Linked DNA regions of Homo sapiens: region 1 is linked to region 2. Evidence: promoter capture Hi-C in 16 types of primary human blood cells and fetal thymus (Javierre and others, 2016). All regions are on one chromosome and are shown on one strand. Each heading gives the region's core, a stretch centred on a gene start or on the middle of the fragment in contact. The rest is flanking DNA. Distances are from core to core; before and after follow the strand shown.

Region 1 (3,067 bases), core at 345-2,844, 5.5 Mb before region 2:
AAATGCTTCATCACCTTTATTACTATTGTTCCTCAGTACTCATTCGAGACGCGTTCCAGGCGGAGGGAAGCAGCCCACCTGCTGACCCAAGACCAGGCGCCGGCCTCTCCACCCGGCCGCGCCCCTCGCGCCCCGCCCCCGGCCCCGCCCCCGCCGACCCGGCCCCACTCTTCGCCCCGGCCTCTACTCCCGCCCCGCCAGGGCTCCCGCGCCCCATAAGGACCACCCTCTTCCGCCTCAGCCAATCAGCAAAGCTTAGGGGGGCGGTGCCACAGGCCCCGGCCCTCCTATCTGGGCGCCAATTAGCCAGCCCATCCGTCGCTCACGAGGTCGCGCCTCGCACCCGCCTTCCTCCTTTTCTTTTACCCTCCCCTTCAGAAAAAACGGCGGTTGGGCTGCGACGGCCGCCAAAGGCGGACTAGAAGCGGAGGGGTGAAAATCCCGGCAGAGAAGGAAGAAGGGACTGCAGGCGGGAGGAGGAGGAGGATAAGGAGGAAGGGAGCCCGCCCAGCCGGAGCCATCTCCGTCGAGAACAAAATGGCGGCGCTGGCGGAGGGCCAACTATAAGGCGGGGCCGCGGCCATTCCCCCTCCACCCCCACCCTTGCGCCGGCCGGGCCGGTCAGGGGGAACCCGCTCGCTTCGCCCGGCCGCGGGCGGGGAGGGGAGGGGAGCGGCCCGGCCCACTATGCAAAGCGCCGGGCGCCGCCGCCGCCACCCCGTGGCAAAGGTAAAAGGGTCGGGTTCAGCCGCCGCCGCGGCGCCTCCATGTCCGCGCGCCAGGCCCGCCCCCTCCGCCGCCGGCCCGAGCCCGCCCGACCCTCTTTCAATTTTACCTCAGGATTTGGCGCCAAAGCGGCCTCGAAGCGGGTCCCGTGTCTGCGGCGGGCGGCCCCCGGCGCGGAGGGCAGGGCGCGGGGAGCCCGGGCTCCCGGTGTCGGCGGATGGCGGGAGCCCGGGGGCCGCGGGCTCGCGGGGCAGCGGGCGAGAGACGAGACGCCGAGGTGGGAGCGGGGTGGCGGGGACGGGCCCGGGGGCGCCGCCGGGGTCGCGGAGAAGGGGGGGTTTGTTATTGTTTTTGTCAGTGAAAGGTCAGAGTTCGTGACCCCGGTGCCGCCGCCGCCGCCGCCCGCGCGCTGGTAGGAGGAGGGCGAATGTTCTTCTTCCTCTTCCCAGCGCCAGCCTCGCCGCCGCGGCGGGGGGCGGGCGAGAACGCGATTGGCTGAGGCGCGCGCGCGCACCGGAACGCCGCAGCCGGCGCTCGGTCCATCCGGCCCGTGGGCTGTGGGGCCCCGGGCGGCGGCGGCTACGTAGCTGCCGCCGGCCTTGGCCGCGGCCGGGCGGGCGGATATGTGGCTTAAATGGCGCAGGCGTCGGGGCCTAGAGGCTGAAGGGCTGGTCGTCCTAAAAACTCGTGGACGTCGCGCACGGTTACCCGGACGCAGGCCCGCCCCTCTGGGGAACCGCGAGCTCCTCGCAGCTGGGTGGGGACCGTCCTCGCAGTGGCGGCCTCCACCCTGCCTTCTCGCTTAGCCAAGGCTTCTGGAAGGCTCGCAAAGTGTCTGTTGTTGGAAGAAGCCGGGCCCTGACTGGCGCGACGGATTCTCCCAGCCGCTCAGCAGAGCGTCTGTAGGTCGGAAGTGGGGGTTGTATTGGGTGGGTATTGAGCTCTTCGGCCCTTCCTCGGTACTGATAGTTTTTAATTTAGGTTTTAAAGGTCTAAAGATGCGCCCGTTCTGGCCATCTCAGGTGAAATGTTGAAACGCCCCAGAACCTATAATTTTTGGTTTCTTAGTAAACATACGATCCAGATCTTGTGTAATTCCATGCCCCTCCTCCTCGAAATTTGGAAGTAGTACATGGTAATAGGGATGTGTAAAGCAGCTTTTAGCAGCATTGCTTAAATTTATTTGAAGAAATTGGCCTGTCTTGCTCTTAAACTCTTGGGCTGTAGGTTTTCCTTACATATTTCTCTGTTTTATGTCGTGGTTTTGACTTGCCTGGGAAGGTGCAGGCGCTTATTTATCCTAAATGCCCTGAAGTGTTTAGGCTACAGGCTGTAGATCTTATACTGATTTTTTTTCTTCAGTTTTCTTGCTTATTAAGAATAAATATTGACTCCAGAATGGATGGGTTAACTTTTTTTCCCACACAGTATCCATTTGGGTTTTTATCAGGATGACTCCAACATTTAGTATTTTTTTTTCCATAATCTTATAATATTTCTATTTGGTAAAAAATGTTTTAAACACAGCTATTTCCCCTTCCTCCTTTTTCTGACGTTGCAAAATTGGGAAAAGAGCTAGGTTCGTTTTGTCATGGTAAAGCACAGCTCTTGAAATTGGAAGAGGCCTTAAGGGAATGTGGTCAAATTTTTTTCTTGCAGAAAGATTTTCCGATTTTAGGGGTGAAGTGGGTGAGAACTAGAAAGGTCAAGTGATGTACCTGAGAGGCAAAAGCAATTGCGTTTTTGCATTTTTGAAATTTGCTGTTTGATATTGGAATACATTCTTAAATAAATGTGGATCATTTTAATGCACATTTCTCACTTTATTTTTTTGCTAATGACTTATTGCTGTTTATTTTAGAATATGCTTTTTGTCTAATGATGTTAGATAAAAAGCAAATTTGGAGCAGTTTTCTTATTCGAGTTCAAAATGGTTCATAAAGCAGCGAAGACAACTCAAAACATCAGTAACACATTTGGCCCAGGAACTGCTAACAAACATACAGTGCAGTGGTGGCTTAAGAAGTTTTGCAAGGAAGAGAGCCTTGAAGATGAGGAACGTGATATGGGCCATGGGAAGTTGACAACGACCAATTGAGAGCAATCATTGAACTACATGAAAAATTACAGAAGAACTCAGCGTTGACTATTCTACGGTCATTAGGGTCGTTCAGCATTCGAAGCAAATTGGAAAGGTGAAAAAGCTTGATAAGTGGGTGCCTCATGAGCTGAGCGGAAATCAAAACTATCGTTTTGAAGTGTAGTCTTCTTTTATGCTACGCAACAACAAACCATTTCTCAATCGGATTGTGACATGTAATGAAAAGTGAATTTTATACAA
Region 2 (3,067 bases), core at 382-2,881:
TCAGCACACTCCACTCAGCTGGATCCTCCCCAATCACAAGTATAGCTATGTAACATCTGTCCAACAAAGAAATGTAAATATGACCTTGGTCACAAATATGTCATCTAAAAACTTGTTTAGTCAACTGATGAAGGTAATTAGCACAGAACTTGGGGATTCGTTCAGTACCTATGTGCAGGAAGGAAACTGGAGAAATGAACTTAAATATAGACAAAGCCCAGTGGAACCCAGAGGTCTGGGAAAGAAATGAGTTACCGGTGAATACATTGCACAAGTAACATGAGAAAGCAGAAAATGCAGGTCATACACGCACCCCTGACCCAGACCAGCAGAGCTGACTGCAGCATCCATATCCAAGAGAAAGACCACTGACGCCCAAGAAGTGAGACAAGCAAGGACTCTATAGAATCAATTAGCATAGAAGGGGCTTTCCCAACAGTTTAACTTTCCCTCTCATGCGATTTACCTACTTGAACCAGGGCTCTTTCCTACACTCCTCTTCACATTCCCGACTTACACGCAGAGGGAAAGAGAATTCATAAAGGGAATATTTTTCTGCCTTTGAAGATATTCTCACAAGATCGTTCTCCACGCCCAAGGCAAGTAAAACGACACAATCTGGCTCAACTCCAGGCTCGAACCCTACACATTCAACGAGGCTATCTCAGACACGCTGTGGCACACGCCACGGGGAGCCAGAGAACGTGTGGTGGGGGTGGCGAAGGTAATGCCTTTGGGAAGCAGCCATCTGAGGTGGGAAGCCAGAAAACGAGAGGGAAGGCGTCCAGGAAGATTACGGAGGGGAGATCGCGGCCCCCAGAGCGATCAGAGTTGTCTGTCACAAGGCCGCGAGAACGGGGGTAGGGAGTGGGGGATCGGGGAGAGAAAAAAAGTATGCCTGTGTATTTCGAGCGGAGGGCAGCAAGAGGCCTCTCCTCAAGGGAAAGGTAAACGTGGAGTAGGCAGTTCCCAGGAAAGGGGGTGAAGAGGCGTTGGGGGAGGGGAAGCGTCCTGACCCAGGAAAAACATGAAAGGGGGAGTTGGGTCGCCTAGATTAGAGGGGGATCTCTCTCCCTGGGAAAATGGGGTGTTGCAACGGTGTGTGCAAGGCGGCGAGGGGGGTGAGAAGTGGCAGCATCCTCCTAAGAGCTTGGGGAGGGCCAGGCCCACGACCCAAGGAGAGCGAGCGCGGGGAGACGGAGGAGGTGACCCTTCCCTCCCCTGGGGCCCGATCGTGAGGTTCGGTCTCTTTTCTGTCGGACCCTTACCTTGTCCCAGGCGCTGCCGGGGCCTGGGCCCGGGCTGCGGCGCACGGCACTCCCGGGAGGCGGCAGGACTCGAGTTAGGCCCAACGCGGCGCCACGGCGTTTCCTGGCCGGGAATGGCCCGTACCCGTGAGGTGGGGGTGGGGGGCAGAAAGGCGGAGCGAGCCAAAGGCGGGGAGGGGGGGCAGGGCCAGGGAAAGAGGGGGGCCGGCACTACTGTGTTGGCGGACTGGCGGGACTGGGGCTGCGTGAGTCTCTGAGCGCAGGCGGGCGGCGGCCGCCCCTCCCCCGGCAGCGGCGGCGGCGGCGGCGGCGGCGGCGGCGGCGGCAGCTCACTCAGCCCGCTGCCCGAGCGGAAACGCCACTGACCGCACGGGGATTCCCAGCGCCGGCGCCAGGGGCACCCGGGACACGCCCCCTCCCGCCGCGCCATTGGCCTCTCCGCCCACCGCCCCGCACCCATTGGCCCACTCGCCGCCAATCAGCGGAAGCCGCCGGGGCCGCCTAGAGAAGAGGCTGTGCTTCGGCGCTCCGGCTCCTCAGAGAGCCTCGGCTAGGTAGGGGAGCGGAACTCTGGTGGGAGGGGAGGTGCGGTACACTGGGGGGATGGGTGGCTAGGGGGGCCGTCTGGTGGCTTGCGGGGGTTGCCTTTCCCGTGGGAAGTCGGGAACATAATGTTTGTTACGTTGGGAGGGAAAGGGGTGGCTGGATGCAGGCGGGAGGGAGGCCCGCCCTGCGGCAACCGGAGGGGGAGGGAGAAGGGAGCGGAAAATGCTCGAAACCGGACGGAGCCATTGCTCTCGCAGAGGGAGGAGCGCTTCCGGCTAGCCTCTTGTCGCCGATTGGCCGTTTCTCCTCCCGCCGTGTGTGAAAACACAAATGGCGTATTCTGGTTGGAGTAAAGCTCCTGTCAGTTACGCCGTCGGGAGTACGCAGCCGCTTAGCGACTCTCGCGTTGCCCCCTGGGTGGGGCGGGTAGGTAGGTGGGGTGTAGAGATGCTGGGTGTGCGGGCGCGGCCGGCCTCCTGCGGCGGGAGGGGAGGGTCAGTGAAATCGGCTCTGGCGCGGGCGTCCTCCCACCCTCCCCTTCCTTCGGGGGAGTCGGTTTACCCGCCGCCTGCTTGTCTTCGACACCTGATTGGCTGTCGAAGCTGTGGGACCGGGCCCTTGCTACTGGCTCGAGTCTCACATGAGCGAAACCACTGCGCGGGGCGCGGGGGTGGCGGGGAGGCGGGCGTTGGTACGGTCCTCCCCGAGGCCGAGCGCCGCAGTGTCTGGCCCCGCGCCCCTGCGCAACGTGGCAGGAAGCGCGCGCTGGAGGCGGGGGCGGGCTGCCGGCCGAGACTTCTGGATGGCGGCGGCCGCGGCTCCGCCCCGGGTTCCCACCGCCTGAAGGGCGAGACAAGCCCGACCTGCTACAGGCACTCGTGGGGGTGGGGGAGGAGCGGGGGTCGGTCCGGCTGGTTTGTGGGTGGGAGGCGCTTGTTCTCCAAAAACCGGCGCGAGCTGCAATCCTGAGGGAGCTGCGGTGGAGGAGGTGGAGAGAAGGCCGCACCCTTCTGGGCAGGGGGAGGGGAGTGCCGCAATACCTTTATGGGAGTTCTCTGCTGCCTCCCGTCTTGTAAGGACCGCCCTGGGCCTGGAAGAAGCCCTCCCTCCTTTCCTCCTCGCGTGATCTCGTCATCGCCTCCATGTCGAGTCGCTTCTCGATTATGGGCGGGATTCTTTTGCCTAGGCTTAAGGGGCTAACTTGGTCCCTGGGCGTTGCCCTGCAGGGGAGTGAGCAGCTGTAAGATTTGAGG

The links. The method cuts DNA at HindIII sites, captures the fragments that hold promoters and counts their contacts. A CHiCAGO score of 5 or more calls a contact.
Region 1: a contact is called between a fragment that was not itself captured here and the fragment with the promoter of SETD5 in region 2, in 2 of 17 cell types (total B cells and fetal thymus). The highest score is 7.3, in total B cells.

The regions. Positions count from the first base shown.
Region 1 is chr3:14,945,675-14,948,741 of GRCh38, reverse strand. It overlaps NR2C2 (nuclear receptor subfamily 2 group C member 2), which reads right to left and starts at 1,159. Exons shown (of 14, transcript NM_001291694.2): 1 at 836-1,159. It overlaps FGD5-AS1 (FGD5 antisense RNA 1), which reads left to right and starts at 301. Exons shown (of 2, transcript NR_046251.1): 1 at 301-729; 2 at 2,588-3,067. RefSeq lists silencers at 97-156, 547-966, 987-1,056, 1,107-1,536 and enhancers at 297-496, 1-630, 1,319-2,008. The HindIII fragment of the contact is 2,676 bases long and covers 257-2,932 here.
Region 2 is chr3:9,396,179-9,399,245 of GRCh38, reverse strand. SETD5 (SET domain containing 5) reads right to left here and starts at 1,631. Exons shown (of 23, transcript NM_001080517.3): 1 at 1,269-1,631. It overlaps THUMPD3-AS1 (THUMPD3 antisense RNA 1), which reads left to right and starts at 2,623. Exons shown (of 4, transcript NR_132781.1): 1 at 2,623-2,686. RefSeq lists an enhancer at 764-813 and a silencer at 1,424-2,733. The HindIII fragment of the contact is 6,018 bases long and covers 1-3,067 here.